4 separate regions of the Homo sapiens genome follow, and regions 1, 2 and 4 are each linked to region 3. Evidence: promoter capture Hi-C in 16 types of primary human blood cells and fetal thymus (Javierre and others, 2016). All regions are on one chromosome and are shown on one strand. The core of a region is centred on a gene start or on the middle of the fragment in contact, and the rest is flanking DNA. Distances in the headings are between cores, read along the strand shown.

What was found. Contacts are between HindIII fragments. The CHiCAGO score rates a contact against its expected background, and 5 or more counts as called.
Region 1: a fragment that was not itself captured here is called in contact with the fragment with the promoter of WDR7 in region 3 in 2 of 17 cell types (monocytes and fetal thymus); the score reaches 8.6 in monocytes.
Region 2: a fragment that was not itself captured here is called in contact with the fragment with the promoter of WDR7 in region 3 in 1 of 17 cell types (monocytes); the score reaches 5.7 in monocytes.
Region 4: a fragment that was not itself captured here is called in contact with the fragment with the promoter of WDR7 in region 3 in 1 of 17 cell types (monocytes); the score reaches 5.2 in monocytes.

The regions. Positions count from the first base shown.
Region 1 is chr18:55,596,409-55,599,513 of GRCh38, reverse strand. LOC105372126 (a long non-coding RNA gene) reads right to left here. Exons shown (of 3, transcript XR_935479.3): 2 at 2,351-2,434. It also overlaps a transcript of TCF4 not described here. Among named protein-coding and RNA genes, the nearest start is that of TCF4, 9.8 kb to the right of the region's middle. The HindIII fragment of the contact is 2,893 bases long and covers 311-3,105 here.
Region 2 is chr18:55,570,544-55,573,415 of GRCh38, reverse strand. All of the region lies in intron 3 of TCF4 (transcription factor 4), which reads left to right. Among named protein-coding and RNA genes, the nearest start is that of TCF4, 16 kb to the left of the region's middle. The HindIII fragment of the contact is 967 bases long and covers 917-1,883 here.
Region 3 is chr18:56,649,544-56,652,642 of GRCh38, reverse strand. WDR7 (WD repeat domain 7) reads right to left here and starts at 1,284. Exons shown (of 28, transcript NM_015285.3): 1 at 1,067-1,284. RefSeq lists an enhancer at 1,164-1,553. The HindIII fragment of the contact is 1,105 bases long and covers 1,052-2,156 here.
Region 4 is chr18:55,459,886-55,463,018 of GRCh38, reverse strand. It overlaps TCF4 (transcription factor 4), which reads left to right. Exons shown (of 20, transcript NM_001083962.2): 5 at 1,904-2,000. All of the region lies in intron 1 of TCF4-AS1 (TCF4 antisense RNA 1), which reads right to left. Among named protein-coding and RNA genes, the nearest start is that of TCF4-AS1, 8.9 kb to the right of the region's middle. The HindIII fragment of the contact is 2,298 bases long and covers 672-2,969 here.

The DNA.
Region 1 (3,105 bases), core at 508-3,007, 1.1 Mb after region 3:
CCTGGCCTCAAGTGATCTGCCCGCCTCGGCCTCCCAAAGTGCTGGGATTACAGGCATGAGCCATTGCACCCAGTCTGCAGCTTTCTTTTTTTCTCAAGTTTTTGTGTTAAGTATAATAAGTAAATGAGTTCAGAGCACTGAGTGATGGGTGAAGGTCAAGAAGTCAGAGCAGACTTCAGAGGGGAGGGAAGAATTGAGGTGGATTTGATGGAAGGCTGGAACCTGCACAGGGAAACTGCAAGAGGGAAGTTGGATCATGGAAGGAAATATCTGAGAACAAATGCATTGTAGCACAGATGCCAAGAAAGCTTGGAAAATCTTGAGCTTTCTCTTCAACACTCATCTTCCCTCCCCACCAGTTGAGAAGCCTTGGGTATTATGTAGGATAATCTTCACTCAGCTCCAAGGGTAGGCTTTGATAGATTTGAGTCTCAGCAACATAATTACTTAGGGATGAATGTAAACCAGTCATGACATAATTTGAGTCAAAGGCAAGTATATTCCTAAAATGGTCCAGTCTCACCTCAGCTGAGGCTTTAGTTTCAAGGTTCAGGGGGCACCAACAGCTATCTCCGTCTAGAGGCAAACAAAAGAGTGATTGCTTCCATTTTTACTGGTAGCCATCTTGGTATCATGAGGGAGTTAGCCTGACATAAAATTGGGCTGAGTTGAGAGAAAAGTAGAGAAATGAAGCTGGAGCTGTATTTGATGGCTCTAAACCTTTTTGGATTTGCAAGCCCTTTATCATTTAAGCCAGTTTGAATTGATTTTTCTATTGCTTCGCAACCCTGATGGCTTTTCTGCTAATCTATACACAGCATTTCTTGAATGCTCGTTTTCATGGCCATAGCCACAGCCCTATTTCAGAATCTCATAAGCAGTAGTTAAGTGAACTGCAGTAGCTTTCTAACTGGTCTCTGCCTTCAGTTTCTTTTTACCTTAATTCATCCTCCATGTTGCCTCCAGAATGTTCTTCTCAGGCACATCTTATCACTGCCACCATGTGATCATCCTAATGGTTCCATGCATTGTGAAAAAAGGCCAATGGCACATGTATACCTATGTAACAAACCTGCGCGTTCTGTGCATGTATCCCAGAACTTAAAGTATAATAAAAAAATAAAAAATACAAAATAGAAAAAAGGCCAATGGATCCAAATTTGCTGGGTTTTAACAGTTTAGTCTTTTGGTTCTTCTCACAAACCCTAACAAGATCCTTACTCTCTAGCCTTCTCATCTTTGCCAGAGTTAATGCTTCAGCCCAGGACATTCTTTTCTCTCTATCTGCTTCATGGGAATACCACTTTTCTTTCCAGATTCAACTCTAGTCTCATCTCTTCTAAGAAGCCTTCTAAGATCTCTCCAGCTGATAGCAATGACTCCTTGCATTATAGTTTTACGGCATGATTTTACCACTTGATAACTCTCTATATAGTTTGTCAGGGGTTTGGGTGATTTATTCTTGTCTAGCCTACCCATTAGCATGTAAAGGCTGGGAAGTTAAGGGCCCCAGTTTTTCATCTTGAATGAATTCTTCATTGCCCCTTGCATAGTGCTTTTCATAGACAAACTGCTCAATGTCTTGTGTCCTCAATGTCATGTGTCCTATGCTTAACTGACTAGAGCAAAGACTTCCTTTAGGAGAGGATATGGAAATAAAGTTGGAAAAGTTAGGTGGGGAGGGGGTTGGAGGGCAGCTTTTGGAGGATTTTAAAATCCAGATTAGATATATTAAGTGCAATTATTTTACTGCACTTTGGAATAGGCAAAAGATTATCTGTTTTCCAAAATTTCTTTCATTCCTTCTATATTATTTACTCTTTTTAAACTTTTACCTTTTTTTTTTTGAGACAGAGTCTTGCTTTGTCACCCAGGCTGGAGTGCAGTGCTGCAATCTTGGCTCACTGCAACCTCCGCTTCCCAGGTTCAAGTGATTCTCGTGCCTTGGCCTCCTGAGTAGCTGGGGATACAGGCACACACCACCACACCCAGCTAATTTGTGTATTTTTTTAGTAAAGACAGGCTTTCACCATGTTGGCCAGGCTGGTCTTGAACTTCTGACCTCAGGTGATCCGCCCACCTCAGCCTTTTTAACCATCTCCTTTTCTTTGGGGGAGAGGGAAGGGGGAAAGCAGCTCTCGGGTTTGAAATATCATGCAGTTTGAGAAGAAATAGAATGCAAAGATGATTAGCTTTCTTTTCTCCTCTCCATTATAATCCCATAATAGACTTCATGAATACCCTTGCTAGCAAAGCAATGAGGGCCATTGCATTAGACTGTTCTCACATTGCTATAAGAAACTACCTAAGACTGGGTAATTTATGAAGAAAAGAAGTTTAATTGACTCACAGTTCCACAGGCTGTACAGGATGCATGGCTGGGGAGGCCTCAGGAAACCTATAGTCACAGCAGACAAAGGGGAAGCAGGCACATCTTCACATGGCACAGCAGGAGAGAGAGAGCGAAGGGGAAGGGTTACATACGTTTAAACAGCCAGATCTCATGAGAAGTCACTCACTATTATGAGAACAGCAAGGGGAGTCCGCCCCCATGATTCAATCACCTCCCATCAGGCCCCTCCTCCAACACTGAGGATTACAATTTGACATGAGATTTGGGTGGGGACACAGAGACAAACCATATCACCCATCTACTTGAGCAGTGGCTATAAACTTTTTTTTTTATGATAACCTAGTATGCATGTACTATACTGTATATTATACAGCTGAAACAAGACTTTTGTAAATCAGCAATACTCTTGTTATGATGCAAGTTAGTATTTTCCGTTATGCCATTTCACTTCAAACAAACAAAAACAAAAAGTTGATCTAAATCAATTTCATGACCATTAAAGAAACGTGTTCTTCTCAGGCACATCTGATCACTGTTGTCACATGCACGATTCTAAAGGTTCCACACATTGTGAAAAAAAGCTAATGGATCCAAACTTCCTGAGTTTTAACACTTTAGTCGACATATGAAAAATGTGGCATTAAAGCATATGTATCCTAATTACTAGGTTACAACTGTTGAATGAGCTAAGTGCTTTTGCCAGTATTTTATATTTAATTTGATATAATAATTTTATGACAGAGCATTATACC
Region 2 (2,872 bases), core at 151-2,650, 1.1 Mb after region 3:
GTTCTACAGTGTGGGTGGTAAAGTTGGAGAATTAACTTTGTAGACTTTATTTGAAATCTGTACCTTTAGGTCATTGGGGAGCATTCATAGTGGCTACTTGTTTTTTTTTTTTTTTTTGGTGAAACTTCCTATAACTTTCTAATACTTGAAAATCTACCATACTTTATACATTCCGACAGTAATTATGAGACCTAATTCAGCTGTGTGATAGCCACTGCCTTTTTAGCAACCAAGCACTAACTAGAGAAGTGCTCTTTTATTTTCTGAGAAAAGTTAGATTGAGTTTGCAATTCTGCGAGGGTACAGGGGTGGAAGTGGGTCTTATTGAATGGTCTTCAGTACCATTTTGGCTTTTTTTTTTTGAGACGGAGTTAAGCTCTCATTGCCCAGGCTGGAGTGCAATGGCGCGGTCTCAGCTCACTGCAACCTCTGCCTCCCGAGTTCAAGTGATTCTCCTGCCTCAGCTTCCCCAGTAGTTGAAATTACAAGCATGTGCCACCACACCTGGCTAATTTTGTATTTTTAGTAGAGACAGGGTTTCTCCGTGTTGGTCAGACTGGTCTCGAACTCCCGACCTCAGGTGATCTGCCCACCTCGGCCTCCCAAAGTGCTGGGATTACAGGCGTGAGCCACCGAGCCTAGCCCTGTTTAGGCTTTTTATAGCCTATGTTCTTATGAGCAGTAAACATTATGATGGTTTAGTTAGACCTGTTGAATTGAATTCACTTCTCCTGCCTGTGGTCAGGTATCAGGTAGCACAGCCACAGAAGTTACTGAATGTCTTTGTTGGTGGACTTTAGGAGAGTGGTTTAATTTATGTGGTATTCTATCTGGGATTGCAGCAGTATTGTTAGATTGCATTTTGTCACAGGGAGGAAATTACCTGGTAACTCCTGATTAGGAACAAAATGAAGCTTCCCCTTTTTACAAATCCTGGCTAACATTCCATTTGGCTCTCTTCTGTTGACCACCTCTCTCTCTCCCCTCCCTCCTCACTCCATTTTCTCAGTTATTTTATTGTTTACTATTGGAAGTCACCTCCCAACTCAGGATACTTGTTAGTCCATTTTAGGAAAAATATCACCATTCTTTCACTATTATTCTCTGTTGAAGTTGAAGAACAGAATATTACTTTTTTTCTTTCCATTATTGGTTACACCAGCTAGTTAGAGACTTGGGGTAATACTGTGGGCATGGGTTGGATCCTGATATCTGTGTCAGTTAGTGAGAGTTGGTTCTATGACCCTAGAGCTCTTTGTGTCCTTCAAACGAGGGTGCTGAAACAAGACGAACATAGAACTGTCTATACCAAGCAAAAAACTCCTGAAAGCACATGCCCACTGCAGGTGAATTGGTAGCATAGTGTGGAGATAAGTGGGCAGTGCTTGGTCCTGTTTCTGCCTCCTAGAGAGTACCTCTCAGCATCCAGGGATGCTTTAGTAACTCTTAGTTAAAACGAAATGAACTATAATTAATTACCTTTCTTTTGGGAGGGACACAGAGAGTTTCAACAGCATCTACAATGCTTTTTTTTTTTTTTTGAAAAGAAAATATGATAGAATATTAAGATTGACAGAGCTGGGGATGGGTTGGAGGCTGAATTATGATGTGTGTTTTCTTTATGCTTGAATTATTTCATAATTAAAAACAAAACATATAATAACAAAAAAAAAAACACCCTCTACCTCTCATTCACATTCCCCTCTGGCCATAGCCTCTTTCTTGACTTCCTTCCTAGCAAGACTTTTGTTAAGTGTTTTCTACACAGGCTGCTACTGCATGCTTCAAAATTTAACCCCAAGCAAATATTAGAAAACATATTTTATCTTATAATACTTGATACCTACAGAATAATCTGTGTAACAAATGTAAGTTGTGAAGCTTAATAATGGAGTGAACATCTATGAACCCACCACCAACATAAGTACTGGAGCAATGTCAGATCCATTGGCCGGCCTGTGGGTTTGTTCCCTGTCCACCTTCCCCTATCTTTCCTGCCAGAGAGAAACATTCTCATGCCCTTTTTAAAGTAGTATTGTGACTGGCATATGTATCCCTAAACAATACTGTATGTTGTTTGGTTTTGCTTGTTTTGGAGGATTATAAAACTGATAGATTGTTTTGTGCTACTTGCTTTTTCACTTGGTATGTTATTGTCCATGTTGTTGCATGTGGTGTATGTTAATTTTCTCTGCTGATGAATAGGTTGTAGTTTATTTATGCATGTTCCAGTTGATGAACCTTTGTGTTCCTCTTTTTTGGAACTACAAACTTTCTTGTATGTTTCTCTTGATGCACATGTGTAAGACTTTCTCTGTGGGGTATATGAGTGGATATCTATGAGTAGAATTGTTGGTTTGTAGAGTTACATGAAAGTCCAGCATGGCAGGATAGTGTCCAGTTGTTTTTTAAAGATTCTTACTGATCTGCACTCCCACCTGTAGCATAAAGGATTACTATTGGTGCAGTCTACTGGTATAAAATAGAAAATGTATCCCATTATAGTCTTTTTTTTTTTTTTTTTTTGAGGCAGGGTCTCACATCTCACTCTGTTGCTCAGGCTTGGAGGGCAGTTTTGCAACCTCGGCTCACTGTCTGGTCTCGACTTTCTGGGCTCAAGTTATCCTCTTGCCTCAGCCTCCCGGGTAGCAGGACCACAGGCACACACATCTCACCCAGCTAATTTTTGTATTTTTTGTAGAGAAGGGGTTTCACCATGTTGCCCGGGCTGGTCTCGAACTTCTGAGCTCAAGCAATTTGCCTTCCTTGGCTTCCCAAAGTGCTGAGATTATAGGCATGAGCCACCACACAGGGCCGCATTGTGGTCTTAATTTGCATTTCCTTGATAATTCGGTTAAACAACTTTGTATAT
Region 3 (3,099 bases), core at 35-2,534:
TTCCCAATTTATAATAACTAATATGTATTGTTCTGGATGGAACTAGACAGTTTTTTATTCTTTGTAATAATGAGGGCATTTCAACACATTATGTTCACTTTTAAGCTGACCTTCATACAGCCACGAGTTTGTTTATAAAGCAAGAAGCAGAGTCAAACTAAAATTTTTGTTTTACAAAATGTCAAAAACTCAGTTAATTTCTTTCATACAACAGGCAATTCCTGCAACCTTGCCCATAAAATCCTAAGACATAAACACCTGAAAGAGTCAGTTTGCCTTTTTTTGTCTCATGGCAAATATTACAGTGAGAGGAAGCTATAGCTGCCACTGACCGAACCCTAAATTCAGCAGCATCAACAATATCAATGCAGCCTGTCATGCGACGGTAGGTTCCCTAGTTTCAGACTATCTAACCCAGCAAATTCTGCCTCAAAAAGTGACATACTAAGTGGGTAAAAAACATAAAACAGCAATTTTTGAATCAAAGTTAGGGTAGTGCTGACTTCAAACATAGCTTCAGAACGCTGGGACCCATCACTAAGTGAATGGGAGTGACTGGCATCCGCTCAGACAAGTACTAGGGCAAAGGGATAAGAACTGGCAGATGGCATCTCAAAAATGAAATTCTAACAGTGGTGTCAGTACCTTGGGCATGGGCAAAAATAGTACCAACAGGAAAGGAAAGACTATATGAACCCCAAAAGCAAGCACATCGCCCAAAATTGCTGTCAATAACCACCAACGATCATCACCAATCACCTGATCCCGTTTAGATTGCACCTGGGAACCAGGCAGTCCCACCTCAAGACCAAAGCAACTGTCACAAGTAGCAAATATCACTCACCAGGCAAGGGAGCCACAAAGACCCCCGGCTGGCCCCCACGCTCTTGGTAACGGCGCCTACTTTTGGGCCCGACCTGCAGGCTTGCAGCCGCAGCGATCTGACAGCTAGCACCGCCCCCGGCTAGAGCGGGTTTGTGACCTTTGACCCCTGACCCCTGACCTCCACGGTGCAGGAACATCCCGCCCTGTGGTTTCCCATGGAGAAGCTTGAAAGCCCCCTTACCTGTCACAGCTTCATCTCATGCCGCGATGTAGCCTATCAGACCGCCGGTGGGCGCCCCAGCCAAGGAGGACAAGGATAGGGCGGAACTACGGAGGATGCGGGGTGCGTAGATCCTGCTGGGATAATCCGTGGGGCGGCAAGCGCTATACAGCCGCCGTCTCCCCAGTGATACTGCAAGGTGCCGGTGCCGCCGCCGCCGCCACTGCAGTAAATCAGCTGACACCAGCCCCAACTGCCGTGACTTTCGCTGCAACTGTCGCAAAAATGAGGGGGCGGGAAAGACTCACCATTTCCCTACTTGCAAGGCCTAAGCCGGCGCCGAGAGAGCCAGCCGCGTTACGATGGAGACCGAAAGTGGAGAAAAGGCCAGCTGTGGGCAAGGAGTGCACGGCCGCCATCTTGGTTGTGGGAAGTCTCGTCTAGGCTGTCCTCTCTCCAGTTGGGAGGACCAAGATGGAGCGAAGGATGAAGTAGCAAGTGCACGTCTTTCTTGGGAGCAGGATGTTGCGCAAGTTTACACTTCTGACCCCATCACACTGCTTCCCACTGAGATGCAAGAGGTAGGGAATTCCCTAAACACTGGAAAGTATGTTGGATGCTGGAAAGCTAAAAAGAATGACAAATGTCCCCCAAGATAGATAAGCTATAGTATAGTGCAGGATGAGAAATGCCAAATAAGGAGCAAGGAAGAAAAGAGATGAATTATTTCTAGGTTGGGGTAAGGAAGGATAATCACATTAGGTCATATGGAAGTCTAGAAAAATTGGTCAGATTTGGAATAATAATTGGGAAAGGAAAACAACTTTGTCACCAGCATTGAAATGTAAAACATGAATATATGCAATAAATAGAAAGTTAAATTTGGAAGAAATACAAGGGACGTGAAGTAGGTGAAGTGGGAAAATGTGGTATCAGGGCTTAGCTGTTTCTGCTCCGTGAGCGGCTCCTTTAACAGGCAGTCTATGCCCTGGAGCTCTCTTGTGGGTTGATAGAGACTTCATCACATTCGGCCTAGACCAGGTAATAAAAAAGTAACATGGAAAAATAGAATAATGTAGATAACAAGAGGCTTTTAGTGGCCATATAAGCTTTTTGGTCTTTATTCCAAAGACAATGAAAAGTAATTGAAGACTTTTGACTAATAAATAGTGTAGCACTTTTCCTAACCACATGGTATTCAGGTTTTTAAAATTGCTTTACAACAAATTATCACAGTCTTAGTGTCTTAGTGGCTTAAAGCAACACATATGTATTGCCTCACATTCCATGGGCAAGGAGGTCAGGAACAGGTTAGCTGAGTCCTGTGCTCATGCTCTCACAAGGCTACAAGTGGATGTCAGCCAAACTGCAATTCTCATCTGGAGGCTCAACTAGGGAAGAATCTGATTCCAAACTCCTGTCAGCTCATTCAGTTCCTTGTGGCTGTCTGACTAGGGGCCCTGGCTTCTTACTGGCTCTGAACTGGAAGTGGCCATCAGGTCCTAGCAGCCACCCACAGTTCCTTACCACATGGGCCTTACTAAAGGCTCTCTCGCAACATGGCAGCATACTCCTTCAAAGCTAGCAAGGAGAATCTCTCTACTGAGCACAAGAAAGGAGTCACACAGATATAGATACAGCCATGGATATGGACATGGACATAGATATGGAAATGGATGTAGATGATAACCTAAATTAGGGAGTGACAGCCATCACCTTTGCCATATATTATTGGTTAAAGTAAGTCACGGGTTTTATCTGTACTCAAGGAGAAAGGATTATACAAGAGTGTGACTTATCGGGGTCACTTAAGATGGGCCAGCCACAAATATTAATTTGGCAGCAATGTGCCATGTAAATCAGGTGGGAAATACAGGGAAGCAAGGAGACAAGTGAGATGTCGTCATTGTTGTTGTAACCAAAAATGTATGGTTATCACTGCAAAAGAATCATAAATGAGACCCACAGGATAAAATCGGGAATTTCACCATTTTAGAGGCATATATATATATATTTTTTGAGATGGAGTCTTGCCCTGTCACCCAGGCTGGAGT
Region 4 (3,133 bases), core at 571-3,070, 1.2 Mb after region 3:
TTGGCATAAGAGGCAGGGAAGGTAATCAAGCTGTCAAAATGAGGGCATTTCAGCAAGTCAGAGCTAGACATTTCCACCTGTCCTTGGCATTGTGATCCTTAGTCTAGTGTTCAGGGTACAGCAGGATCTCTAAGCTTACCAGTAACTTTGTGAGCCCTTACACCAGCTGTCGAGCTTGACATTCTAATGCTTTATATGGATGGGTTGAGGAAATCTTTCCTCCTCCTCATGTTACAGTCTGCACTTGCAGAAATAAATCCATTCCCCTTGACAGCAAGTGGAGATCATAGAACTCCCCTCAATTGTTTAGTTCATCCAGATTTTCACAATTTCTTATGATTTATCCATTCAGTACACATGGTACTTTTAATTGTGTTTCAGAAAACAAGGTCTGTTTAGAATCATCTTAATTTAGGATTAAAACTAACTAGCTTTTGGTTTTTGTTAGCTGTCCTGCCATTTTTCTCAAGGAATATATTGGTGAATAATTTCAAACCAATTTTGTGTAATTTATATTTTCTAAATCCAGAAGTTTGCATGAGACAAATCATTTGTGGCAGATTTATACCCAGGCGTACTTTCAAGGTCTCTCTTTTTTCATCTTAACATGGGGATAGTGTCTACCTTACAGCACTGTGCTGAGGATTAAATTAGATAATATATATTAAGCTTTTAGTACACTATCTAGGATGAGGACACTTAATAAGTGATAATTAGCATTATGCAATGCCTGGTATAGAGTGAGTGAGTGTACTATGATGGGTATTTAAAATGTAGCCTCTTTTTATAGATGGACATGTTGGCAGAATTAGATTACAGTATCAGGCAAGTTAATTGTTATACACGAGGAAAGGTGATTGAGAACGGGGTAGTTTTCCTTAAGGTTGAGGGGATGTGTCTTTTCCTTGTTCATGCAGCAGCCCTCTCTTTTGTGTGGGCAGATTTTGCCCTTTGGCTCACATGCAACCGATACCTCTGAGTAAATTTGACTTAGACTTTCATGGGCAGTTCCACCAGCTGAGCAGAATGACTTTTTCCCCCCTTTTTGGTCACTTTATGCACTTTAGTAGACTGAAAGTTGAACCATGTAGTATAGATGATTTTAACTCTTTCCTATTGCGTTATCAAATTTCCCCATTAAAATTAAGTAACTGGACAGCTTAAGAACATTGTTTTAATTTTAAATTCCCCTTAAAACAATAAGCTGATTGTAATAATGAAATATTTCTGTCAAAATTTGTCTGCCTTACAACTGGTTGTTTTTTGTGACATGCTTTGTCCAACTCCAGAAATGCTAATTTATGCTAATGTTTTGATGTTCATATCCTAGTTAAACCCTAATATTCTTAACTTTCTTATGTGTTAATTACTTATGTGACAATCTAGTTCTCTTACAACCACAATACCACAATAGTAACTATAATAAAACATTGAAACTTCAGTATCCTAACACCAAATGTTATTGTTTGAATGGCTCTATCTTGGTCTTTGAAAAGCAATTCATTGCATGCTATGCCTAATTTTCCCTTGTGGCACAATTTTGCTTTAATGTGGCCTTATTAAAATAATAATTTTTAACATAAGCAATATACTTTGTATGTGTCTGGTGTCTTACATACACTATTTTATTTAATCATGTCAACAACTCCATGCAGTTGATACCATTATTATTATTCCTAAGATTTCTCAGCTATTATGAGGAAAATTTGGACTTCGTAGACTCTAGAGCTTTCTTTTAGCCACTATACCTGTGAAAGTGCAGATTCCTTCTAGTGAAGTTCCAGGGAGGGAATAGTGGACTCCAATTTCTTTGGAGGGGAGAAGTTTTGGTAGTGGAGCTATGTTTGTTTATGTGCTGTTTATTAATATAAAATAATAACTTACACTGTCATTTTATTTACAGAACTATGGAGATGGGACTCCCTATGACCACATGACCAGCAGGGACCTTGGGTCACATGACAATCTCTCTCCACCTTTTGTCAATTCCAGAATACAAAGTAAGACCCATTTTAAATTAACTTACACTTTTTGAATGCTCAAGTTTTACTATAGAAGGTAAAACCATGTCCTAGACAGAGGTTCTGCTTTTAGAAACTTGGATATTTAGTCAGTTCACTTGTAATAATCTTAAATTGCAGAGAGGATTGGCAGTCTGTGTTTGGTAATAGTGCATTAAGGATTAAGTTTTACAAGCATATGGAATGAAATGCTTTTAGTGATACTGAATCTATGTGGAAATTTTGTTTTCCTTAGACCTAAAGCACGGACCACAGTTTCAATGTTGTATCAGTAGTTTCCTAAGTTAAGGTAGATGAAGTCAAAGTGGTGAATATTTAGAATAAAAATATCACTGGGCTTGTTGGTTGGCAGTGATATATAGTCAGTGTTAACTGTGATTTCTGCTAAAGGGGTTATGAAAATAAATGGTGTTAATGGGCTTAGTGTGCTTAAATCAGAGTAGTGCATTCAAGTTGAATTGTAAAATCTGATTGTATATTTATCAAGGCATGAACTTTAGTGCTAATGGCCTAGGCAGACCCCATCCTGCTTTATTAAAGCAAGTTACCTGTTAGTTTGAGGCTGTCTGTGAATCTCCGGCATGCCATTCATCCTGGCATCCTCAGCATGTTTTTCTGCTTTTGGCTACCCTGTAGGGATGTTTGTTTAACAGCAGTAACTTGAGCAATGAAAAGATGATTCCTAATGGCTTAAAAGGTCCCAATAGCTGGCTACTTTAGTTTTGATTGAAAAAAAAAAAGATCTTTGTTCTAGTAAACATGAGTTCTTAACAATATTAGTAAATCTCTCAACCTGGCCAAATTCTCTTGAGAATCTGTCAATAAGTGAAGTTAAATTTCTTGGTACAATCTGTTGGACAACACTCCAAGGAAACACACACAGCGATGATTATATTTTTCTGAGACCATAACTGCAAATGCTTCTAAAGAATGTCATGATTTTAAGCTTTGGAAGCTATACCAGTTACTTCAGGTCCTTGAATCTCAGGCATTCTTTGAAAAATCACCATCAAATCCATCTAAATGGATTTCAGATATTTAACACAAAATAGTCAAAGCAGATAAATACTAGCAACTTATTTTTAATGGGTAACATCATATGTTCGTGCCTT